Linked DNA regions of Homo sapiens: all the other regions are linked to region 4. The links are contacts of gene promoters, found by promoter capture Hi-C in blood cells and fetal thymus (Javierre and others, 2016). All regions are on one chromosome and are shown on one strand. The core of a region is centred on a gene start or on the middle of the fragment in contact, and the rest is flanking DNA. Distances in the headings are between cores, read along the strand shown. Region 1 overlaps RNF121 (ring finger protein 121). Region 2 overlaps RNF121 (ring finger protein 121). Region 3 overlaps NUMA1 (nuclear mitotic apparatus protein 1). Region 4 holds the start of NUMA1-AS1 (NUMA1 antisense RNA 1).

Region 1 (2,700 bases), core at 158-2,657, 56 kb before region 4:
AGTGGCTCATGACCGGTAGGACTGGTCTTTTGGGATCTCTCTAAGTATCTGGGTTGCTCTCTTAGTCTTGAATGTGTAAGCAGATGATTGCACCAAATCATCTATCTGGGTTTCAATACCATTTCTACCATTTACTAGCTGTGTGATTTTTGAGCAAGTTACTTAACTTCTCACAACCTTACTTTGCCCCATTTGTAAAATGAGGATCATAACAATATCTATACCTCATAGAGTTGTGAGGATTAATATATGTGAAAATCTTAGAAGAGTGCCTGGCATGTGGTAAGCTTACAGTAAGTGTTAACTGCTTTGAAGATGATTATCATTAACATCATCATTATTATCCATGATACAGGATGGGGAGCTCTGGTTAAGAAAATGGGAGATGTATCTTCTGTTCTCAACTCTGCAACTAACTTGTTTTGTAAATAGAATGAGCCATCATATATCTTATGATGATTGCTCATCAGTAAAAGGGTTTCAGAGTGCCTGCCCCACGAACTTCACAAGGTGACTGACCAATGAGGTGATATCAACCTTAGAATTTAATAGTGAGAAAAAACCTATTGATTTTATTTAGATTAAAACTATTGACTATAAAAACATAGAATGGCAAAAATACCTGTTCACATGACAAACCCAGTGTGATTTTAGGTGATTTTAAGCTTAGTATGAACCAGTTGTGTACCTCAGCTACCAAAATATTCTGAATAATTTAAAAGATGTTCGTAGAAATATGCTGTCTGCTGTAAGAGAGGTGATAGTGCCACTGTGGTCTGCTCTGCTGAGGTCACAAATATTTTGTTCTAAGCATGGCATATTAAAAAGATCTTTAACTGGATCATGTGTAGAAGAAGGCAACCTGGATTAATAGTCTTCATATCATGTTATATGAACAGTGGTTAAAAGATCTAGAACTGTTAGCCTCAAAGGGCACAGGAAAATAGTGGTAGGAACAGGATGGTTTTGTTTTGTTTGAATAACATCATGATAAATCTTTGAAGGGGTGGCATTGGGAAAGAAGAGTCAATATGTCCTTTGTTGTTATGGAGTATCGGATTAGGTCTAATGGACTGAAGCTATAAGAAGATAGATTTTTTTTTTGTCTCATTGTCAGAACTGTCTTTAATAGTCAAGGTATATTGAGAGGTAATGAGCTTTCTGTCCCTAAAACATTGGGATTTTATTCATTTATAAGCAAATATTAGTACCTGCCCAGGTGTGGTAGCTCCCACCTGTAATCCCAGCACTTTGGGAGGCCAAGGTAGGAGGATCCCTTGAGCCCAGCAGTTCGAGGCTGCAGTTCATCTAGCCTGGATGACAGAGCGAGACTCTCTCCAAAAAAATAATATATGTATATGTACCTACAATGTGCCAGACACTGCTGGTTCTAAAATAGATTACCTTAAAAGGCATGTGTTCTCAGCCAGTGGAAGTATTCAAGCAAAGATTGCAAAAATGATTTTTGCATTGGGTGGGAACTTGAACTGGATGACTTCTCTGGTCTTTTCTAGATCATTCTTTGACTTCATTTTGTGCACATCCGTTCACTGATATGTTGTCTGAGAACAAGAAACTTATCTCTTGCTATCTTTATAACTCCTCATAGCCCTTAGGTGTTTTTAAGTGTGCTCTACCCTCTTAGCCTATTCTCACAACAACTCTTGAGTCAGGCAGAAAAAATATGGACTCCTTTTGACAGATGAAGAAATTGTGATATACAGATGTGAGGTTAATTGGCCATGGCCATATAGGTGGGTCTGAATCTAAGTTTCGAACTCCCAATCCTATTCTCTTTCTGTCAGATTCTCCCACCCAGGGTAAAGTTTTATGTCAGATGAACCCTTAGGTGCTGAGGCTTACTGACTGGCATTTGGCTTCCCACTCTGCCCACCAAGTTTTCCCCCCTTACATTTTGTTATGAAAAACTTTAAACACATAGAAAAGTTGAAAGAATTGTACAGTGAACACCTTTATACTTACCACCTGGGTTCTACACTTTTTGTTATATTTGCTTTATTGTTTATAATTCATCCTTCTGGGTTATTTTTGCTGTTAATGTTTAATTGCCCATGGAAATTCCATGAAGACACTATTTATGTTGTCCTTTTCCTCCCTCCTAAATACCCTGGTGTAATGGGAATTGTATAAAAGCTTATGACTCAAGTTACATTTGTATTTGATTTTATTATTTATTTAAATTTGCCCTTTCCCACACATTCTGATGTATTTGATTTTCTCTCTAATTCCTTCTCTTCTCTCTCTCTTCTTCTTTTTTTTTTTTTTTTGAGATGGAATCTCATTCTGTCGCCCAGGACGGAGTGCAGTGTTGCGATCTTGGCTGACTGCAACCTCCACCTCCCAGGTTCAAGTGATTCTCCTGCCTCAGCCTCCTGAGTAGCTGGGATCACAGGCATGCACCACCACACCCGGCTAATTTTTGTATTTTTAGTAGAGACGGGGTTTCGCCATGTTGGCCAGGCTCATCGTTAACTCCTGACCTCACGTGATCCTCCGGCCTCAGCCTCTCAAAGTGCTGGGATTACAGGTGTGAGCCACCGCGCCCGGCCTCTAATTCCTTTCTCATTCCTCTCCTTTGGATGACTGTGACCCAGAGTGGTAGGAGTGACTGTTCTTAGAACAAGTTTTTAGCCAGTATTAGCCAAGGGAATCACTTGCTGCCAGTCTTTAAGACCAGCG
Region 2 (2,700 bases), core at 57-2,556, 38 kb before region 4:
GAGTTTCCTTATTTAACGACTTTTGCCCAAGTCCTTTCCTTGGATCTCAGGTACTTTCTCAACCTCCTCTTAAGTCTCTTCATCATCTTGCCTCCCCAGCCTCTCCAGATTTCCCCACAAACTCAGTGAATGATGATTGGTAGGCAGCTTAAGAGACAGAAAATCTGGATTGGAAACCTAGCCCAAACCAGACTTGCCTTTTGGCTTCTGCGTAGCTCAGTTTTCATCATCTATTCAGAGTCTAACATTACTCTTTAGCTCCTTCAGGGATGTTAGGGGAAGGGATAAGTTTATGCCTGGAAAAGTATCCATCCTATTTTTGAAGTTCTCCAGGGAGAAGCTTTCATCATCTGTGTCTACTACCAAATATAGTATCTCTTCACATCTCTACCTCCTGAACTGCTTTCCCTCCTGGAACCGGTGAGTGGCAAAATCTCCTACCTGGAAATCTTTAAAGTACTGTAGATTTTTCTTAGACCAAGATATTAGGATTACTAGAATGTGGAATTAGAGAATTCTGACTAAGGTGGTAAGGGGTTGTAATTCACTTTCTATGAGAAGGAAAAACTTCTATCTTCAGAATATAACAAAAACTTGTAGCTGTGGTATCTTTATCAGCCTCCTTTGAGTCTCATCTACCTCTTTAGGCTCATTTCTCACACCTTCCTCAAATACTAGTTGTCTTTTCTCAAGTATACCATGTCCCCTCATCCTGGAACACCCATCATGATGCCTTTTTCTATCTGGACCTATTGGCCATCAAGACAGAGATCAAAGGATGCTTCCTTCAGGCAGCCTTCCTTGGAGGGGGGTGGGTTCTCCACTTTGAGTGGAGTGCCTCTCCTCTGTATTTTCTTGGTCACCAGCCCTTACTCCATTAAAGCACTTAATTGTGGTTATTTGTTTCTCCTCAGTAGACTTGTGTTCTTCAGGAGATTTTGGTTTTCATCTCTGAATTCCCCAGTCATTAGCATGGCATCCAGTAAGTGCTCAGTAAATGTTTATTAAATGACTGCTTGACTGACTCGTTTGCTTGAAGTGGAAAAGATGGGAAAGAAGACATAGTTCTAGGTATTAGAAGAGTAGTCATAAGAAACATGGAGTAAGTTTACTTTGTGCTCCTCTGAAAGATAAGAGTTGGACCCAGAGACAGAAGTGACACAAAGGCAGATTTTTCAGGTCAGCATCAGGAAAGAGCTGTCTAGCAAATATATTCGTATTGGAGTGGCCTGACTTATGTGGTAAGGATTACTATGTGTAGGTGTGATAGGAGGGAAACAACTCCAACCGTGTTTCTGCCTTGTAGAGTGTCCAGTAATGTGTAGTGTCTCACTAGGTCATAGAAACTACACTGAATATGTCTGTTTATTGGGCCTCTGGATGACTCTTCAGATATCATTTATCTGAAGCCTTCTTGTAGTCTTCTCCAGGCTTAATATCCTGGTGTCTTCAGTTGTTCCTTATGTGATTTGGTTTCCAGGCCTTTTATTATAATCCTAGCTGCTCTCTTATGGCCTGCTGTCTTATGGCCATGCTTATTTGTTAGTGTTCTTTGTATAGTGTGGCCCCAAGCCCTGATCCTAGGGTCCCAGAGATACTTTAACAGAGCAGAGAACAGTAGACCTGCTGCCCCCTCCATTCTGGGTATATTCTTTTTTTTTTTTTTTTTTTTTTTTTTTTGAGATGGAGTCTCGCTGTGTCGCCCGGGCTGGAGTGCAGTGGCACAATCTCGGCTCACGGCAACCTCCGCCTCCCGGGTTCAAGCGATTCTCCTGCCTCAGCTTCCCGAGTAGCTGGGACTGCAGGTGTGCGCCACTATGCCCAGCTAATTTTTGTATTTTTAGTAGAGACGGGGTTTTACCATGTTGGTTGGCCAGTATGGTCTCGATCTCTTGACCTCGTGATCTGCCTGCCTCGGCCTCCCAAAGTGCTGGGGTTACAGGCGTGAGCCACGGCACCTGGCCCATTCTGGGTATATTCTTAGTTAAGCAGGGTTGTCTTGGCTGTGTTGGCAGCAGCCCTGTTGGCATATATTCCCTGGCAATTTGTGGTCAACTGAAACCCCTAAGCCTGTTTCATGTGAGCTACTATTAAGCCATTCCTTCCCCATTCTATACTTTGGTAGTTAGGTTTCATTTTGTGGTTTTGATTCTTCATTTCAGCTTATTAGCTCATGGAATGTTAGGGCTAAAAGAACCCTAGAAATAAACTTTTTTCATTTTGATCTTATTTCTTCTATTTTCCATGTTCACTGCCTCCCTTTCCCTCCCCACAAGCTTTGTGCTGTCCACAGTTGGGAGGTTCTTTGTGTTTTCTTCCAAATCATTTATGAAAATATTGAGCAGAGCCATGGAGCATGTCCCAGAAACCTACCTCCAGTTGACTGCAGTCTATTTCTCAGCCTATTTTCAAGCTGATTGTTCTATTAGCTGTGGATCTCTACCTTTATTCTACTACTTGGGCTTATAGTTTCATTTCATCCACTATATTGCTTTTCAGCCAGGTATGGTGGGAGGGTGATCCCTAGCTTACAACATGAGGGGATGCAGAGGTGGTAAGATGAGAATCCTGAAAGTCAAAAGTGCCAAGCACCTGTGGACTGGAAAGGCACCTGATGCACAGGGAAAGATATGATCTATTTTCATGAATTCTAGTTTCTCTGAGATGAAAGGGATCTGGAGGTTGTCTTATTAGAAATAA
Region 3 (2,700 bases), core at 116-2,615, 45 kb after region 4:
GTTCTCTGTTTTTAGAAAACTAGGTTTAAACTTTACACATTGCTCTGCAACTTATCTCATCTAACAATTTATCAACATCTCCCCAAGCATCAATAACTAAAATTCTAACTCATACTTTTAAAAAGCTACATAAAAGTCCATATAAGGGATATCCATAACGTGTTCACATATTTTTCTATTGAGGGAATGGCTATTTTCAGTGTTACCATTTCAAACAATGCTGTAATGAGTATCCTTGACGTATTTCAAGTTAAAGAAAAAAAACTATTTCTACACACATACTTTCCTTGTTGTCCCATGTTTTGATTACTCCTGGTCTCATCATCATCCCTACCTCCCTTGCTCAGAGAATCATCCTCAGGGTCCAGTGTGATGACAGAGAGCAAAGTAACTTGGAGAATGTCAAGACAAGACATGTGATAGTTACTGTTGGTAAATTGGAAATGGCCTGTCTTGGCTGCCTCTCTCAGTCACTTGCACATGCTATCCCCCTCCTCCCCTTACATGTGCTCCCTGTTCTGGTCTCAGCAGCTGCTTCCAACTCAACTGATGTGAGCACAGCTAGCTACCTTGTCACACTCCTAATCCTGGCAAGTGCAGACAGGCCCAGGAGCTCTCCAAACAATTGGAAAGGAGAAGGAATACATTATCACTGTGAAATAATATAATACGGAGGTATCTAGAGTAAAATGTAAAACTCCCTCTTCATTAAGCCTCAACCCACATTTGCCAGTGACACTCCCCAGCTCAGAAGTGACCACTGTTAGAAGTCTGTTGTACAACCTTTTGGATTTTTCCTAAGCATGTACACATACAGGTATATATTCACATACAGGTATGTGTGTTTGGTCTACATATCTGTAATCATACCATATAATATGTTCTGCAACTTGCCCTTTTCATGTAAAAATTTATTTGACATGTTTCCATACCAGCAAAAAACAGATTCCTCACATTTTTAATTAATTTTTTTTGAGACAAAGTCTCACTCTGTCACCCAGGCTGGAGTGCAGTGGCACCATCATGGCTCACTGCAACCTCAACCACCTGGGCTCAGGTGATCCTCCCACCTCAGCCTCCTGGTAGCTGGGACTAAAGGTGCGCACCACCATACCCAGCTAATTTATTTGTAGAGATGGGATTTCACCATGTTGCCCAAACTGTTCTCAAACTCCTAGGCTCAAACAATCCGCCCACCTTGTCCTCCCAAAGTGCTGGGATTACAGGTGTGAGCTATCATGGCTGGCAATTCCTTAAACTTTTAAAAGCTTGAAAAAATCCTATGTAAGAATGTGCCACAACTTTATTTTCCCATTTTGCTACATCTGGACATTTAGGTTGTTCACAGTGTTTTGCATGTCAAAGAATGCTGTATTGATAACACTGGCAGCACATCTCTAATTTTACACACAAGCTAATATTTCTCTAGGATATATACCAATAATTAGAATTAATGGGTTGAAAAGCTTGTGTATTTTAAATGTCAACAGATATTCCCAAATTACCATCTAAAACTGTGTACTAGTTTATAGTCTCACCAACAGAGGATAAAAATTCCCATCTACACCCTTCTACCAATATATTTTATCAATATATAAGATAGAATATATTATTGTTTTAATTTATATCTTATTTCCAGAAAAGTTAAACATCTCCTCACATATGCAACTGTTCATTCTTATTTCTTATGAAAGGTATTACCATTTTGATTTTAAACATGAGGGTTCAGAGATGCTAGAGTGACACAACCAGTAAGTCCAGACATCAAAGCTGTTTTTTTAACAATTTCCCATCAAAACTAGGCCTCTTTCTGTCAAGTGTAATTCCCCCTACCAGCAGCCAGCAAACTATGGCCTATAAGTTAGCAGCCCATATTTTGTAAATCAGGTTTTACTAAAACGTAGCCACGCCCATTCATTTAAGTATTGTCTATGGCTGCTTTTGTTCTCCAATGGCAGAGGTGAGTAGTTACAACCACATGGTCTGCAAAGCCTAAAATATTTACTACTGGGGTCTAAACAGAAACAATAACTTGCCTAAGCACAGTGACTCACACCTGTAATCCCAGTGCTTTGGGAGGCTGAAGGTGGTGGACTGCTTGCTGTTTGAGCCCAGGAGTTCGAGACCAACCTGGGCAACATGGCGAGATTCCATCTCTACAAAAATTAGAAAAATAGCCAGTTGTGGTGGCATGCACCTGTAATCCCAGATACTCAGGAGGCTGAGGTGGGAGGACTGCTTGAGCCTGGGAGGCCAAGGCCGTGGTGAACTGCCATTGTGCCACCACATTCCAGCCTGGAAGACAGAGTGAGACTCCATGTCGAAAAAACAAAACGCACACACACAAAAAAAACAAGAGTTAAAAACTAAAGAAAAGCTCAGGTCTGGGCACAGTGGCTCATGCCTGCAATCCCAGTACTTAGGAAGGCTTAGCGAGACCCCATCTCTACAAAAAATAAAAAAAATTAGGCTAGGCACGGTAGCCCACACCTGTAATCCCAGCATTTTGGGAGGCCGAGGCGGGCGGATCACGAGGTCAGGAGAATCGAGACTGTCCTGGCCAACATGGTGAAACCCCATCTCTACTAAAAATACAAAAATTAGCTGGCCGTGGTGGCGTGTGCCTGTAATCCCAGCTACTCAGGAGGCTGAGGCAGGAGATCACTTGAACCAAGGAGTTGGAGGCTGCAGTGAGCCGAG
Region 4 (2,700 bases), core at 139-2,638:
TGAGTTTCTGCCTCTCTTCCTGGAACCGCTGCCTCTCCTCCAGGACCTTGACCTTGGCACCCTCATACTTGGCAGTCATCACCTCCAGCTCCCGGGCAGTGCTCTGTGCTTCTCGCTGCACCTCAGCCAGACGGGTCTCAGCATCAGCACGTACGGCTGCCAACTCTTGGACATACTTCTCCCGGGCCTGGTCCAACTCCACTTCCAGAAACTGCCGGCCAAGGTTGGCCCGCTCACCCAGCCCCCGGTTCTCCTCTGCCAGCAGGCCATGCGCCTTCTTCAGCATGCTCAGCTGCTCTGCATAGCTGGCCTTCTCTGCCCGCAGCTGCTGAGCTGTTCGCTCCTGCTCTGCCACCTTCTGCCGCAGAGGAATCAGCTCCCCAAGCTCCCGCTGGGCCCGCAGCAGCTCTGCCCGCAGTCCCCCAGCGGCCTGCTTGCTCTGCTCCAGCTCCTCACGGTGGCGTTTCTCGGCAGCGGCCTGCTCGGCCTGCAGCTGCTGGCAGAGGTGCTTAGCTGGCAGCAGCTCACTCACCAGGGCCTGTGTGCTGGTGTGCTCGAGCTGCAGGGTGGAGAGGGCCTGCTCTTTCTGGAAGAACTTCTCCTGCCACGCCTTCAATTCTTGGCCCAGCTCCTCCGCACGCTCAGCCTGTGAGGTCAGCTCCTGCCGCAGGTTCTCTGAAGCCACCCGCTGTTTCTCAGCCTCCTCCCGGAGGCTCTGCACCTCCTCCCGCAGAGCAGAGCTGCGTTCTGCAGCTCTGGCACTGTTGCTGGCTGTCTCTGCCTGCAGCAGGCGCAGCCTCTCCTCCAGCTTCTGGCTCTTCTCTGACTCGGCCATCACCAGCCGCTTCAACTCCTTGCTCTCCCCCTCCTTCTCCAGGACCTGGCGATTCAGGATGGACACCTCCTCCTCCAAGCTGCTGATGAGGCTATTTTTCCTCTCAGCCTCTTGCCGGCCCCGGGCCACCTGGGCCTTCCACTCATCTTCAGCCTTGCTGTGGTCTTGTACCTTGGTGCGGAAGGCAGCCAACTCCCGTTGGGCCGAGGCTAAGGCACTCTGACTGTGCCCTAGCTCCTGGGCCTTCTCCTCTAACTGGCCCTGCAGAGTCTCCAGAGCACTGTCCCGCTCAGCCCGGGAGGCCCGCTCAGCCTCGAGGCTGCGTTCCAGGCTGTCAGCCTGCTCCTGCTGCTTCTGGCATTGCTGTTCCAGCTTGCTCACCTCTGCCCGCAGTGCCTCCAGCTTGGGGCCTGTTGGCTCTGTCCTGCCAGCAGCCTCAGATTGGGCTCCTGAGCCAGATGCGTGCTCCTTTTCTTTCTTAGCCAGCTGTTCCTTCAGTTGCTTCACGGTTTGCCGAAGTTCCTCCAGCTCTTTTATCTGGGCTGCCTCCAGACCACGAAGCTTGGCCAACTCCTGGTCCTTGCCTTCCTTTTCCGTCAGGGCATGAGCCAGTGCCTCTTGCAGGGTAGCGAACTCCACACGCTGCTCGTTGAGGGCGTTCTGCAGCCGCATCTCAAGCTCTGCTCTGGCCGCCTTCTCCAGGGCAAGGTCAGCCTGGGCACGGCCCCGCTCCTGGGTCAGCCGCGCCACCTCCCTTTCCTGCTGCCCACGCTCCTCCTGCTGCTGCCCCTGGCTCTCCATCAGCGCGGCCCGCAGCCGTTCCAGCTCATTGCCCATCTGCTCTGCCTCCCGCTCCATAGCCTGCAGCGCTGCCTGTGTGCTGCAGAACTGGCGTCCCTGTTGCTCTTCCAGCCACTCGGGCTGTCTGTCTCCTGCCCTCGCAGGCTCCTTGACTAACTCCCGGGAGGCTGTTTCCTGCTGCTCACCTGCCTTGCGCACCAAGGTCTCCAAGCGGGCCACCTCTTTGCTGGTGGCAGCCATCTTTTCCTGCAGAGTGGAGAGGTCATCTGCAAGCTTCTGGGCCCTGACTTCCTTCTCTTGGACCTGCTGGAGTGCTCTGGCCAGGTTGGCATGGAGCTCAGCTAGTTCGTTCTGCTGCCGGCTTATCTGGAGCTCGCTGTGGGATTCTATGCCTGCCACCTTCTCCTTTGCCTCCTGCAGCTCCTGGCGGGCCTTCTCACATTCCTCCTTCAAAGTCATCAGCTGTTCCTGGAACATGGCGCCATACTGTGCCTCCTCTTGCTGGCTATCCTCATACCGCTCACGCCAGGCAGCTACTTCTTTGACGAGCTGCTCACACTCACTCTCAGCTGTGTGCTGGGCAGCCATGGCCTCTGCCAGCTCCCGCCGCAGGACTTCAGTCTCAGCCTGATGGGCCTCCCCAAGCTGCTGTAATCGAGCCTCCAGCCCCTTGCGCCCAGCCCTCTCTTCTTCCAGCTCCTTTCGTTCCCGCTTATGCTGCTCCACCAGGCTTCGGGTCTCTGCCTTCAGCTCAGAGATACAACGCTGCTGCTCTTCCAGGGCATCTGCAGCCCTGCGCTTCTCCTCTTCAAGGCTGCCCTTGGTGACCTTCAAGGACTCTTTGAGGGCCTGGAGCTGCTCCTGGAGCTGGTCCTTCTCCTGGGCCACCCTTTCTTTCTCAGTTGCTTTTTGCTGCTCAGACCGCAGCTGCAACTCTAGCTCTGCAACCTGGGCCTGGGCCTCATGCTGTTCCTGGCGGGCTGTCTCAACACAGGCCTGGAGTTCCTCCACCTTCCGGCTCAGCTCTGCCTTCTCCCGCTGGGCCTGTGTCACTGAGGTCTGGG

Evidence for each region. Contacts are between HindIII fragments. The CHiCAGO score rates a contact against its expected background, and 5 or more counts as called.
Region 1: a contact is called between a fragment that was not itself captured here and the fragment with the promoter of NUMA1-AS1 in region 4, in 2 of 17 cell types (M2 macrophages and M1 macrophages). The highest score is 5.3, in M2 macrophages.
Region 2: a contact is called between a fragment that was not itself captured here and the fragment with the promoter of NUMA1-AS1 in region 4, in 4 of 17 cell types (M0 macrophages, M2 macrophages, M1 macrophages and 1 more). The highest score is 8.6, in M0 macrophages.
Region 3: a contact is called between a fragment that was not itself captured here and the fragment with the promoter of NUMA1-AS1 in region 4, in 1 of 17 cell types (M1 macrophages). The highest score is 5.1, in M1 macrophages.

The regions. Positions count from the first base shown.
Region 1 is chr11:71,957,366-71,960,065 of GRCh38, forward strand. All of the region lies in intron 2 of RNF121 (ring finger protein 121), which reads left to right. Among named protein-coding and RNA genes, the nearest start is that of RNF121, 30 kb to the left of the region's middle. The HindIII fragment of the contact is 1,489 bases long and covers 664-2,152 here.
Region 2 is chr11:71,974,694-71,977,393 of GRCh38, forward strand. All of the region lies in intron 3 of RNF121 (ring finger protein 121), which reads left to right. Among named protein-coding and RNA genes, the nearest start is that of IL18BP, 23 kb to the right of the region's middle. The HindIII fragment of the contact is 1,936 bases long and covers 339-2,274 here.
Region 3 is chr11:72,058,321-72,061,020 of GRCh38, forward strand. The region is part of intron 2 of NUMA1 (nuclear mitotic apparatus protein 1); the gene reads right to left. Among named protein-coding and RNA genes, the nearest start is that of MIR3165, 13 kb to the right of the region's middle. The HindIII fragment of the contact is 198 bases long and covers 1,267-1,464 here.
Region 4 is chr11:72,012,903-72,015,602 of GRCh38, forward strand. NUMA1-AS1 (NUMA1 antisense RNA 1) reads left to right here and starts at 1,389. Exons shown (of 4, transcript NR_104178.2): 1 at 1,389-2,700. It overlaps NUMA1 (nuclear mitotic apparatus protein 1), which reads right to left. Exons shown (of 27, transcript NM_006185.4): 15 at 1-2,700. RefSeq lists an enhancer at 2,043-2,700. The HindIII fragment of the contact is 6,447 bases long and covers 1-1,394 here.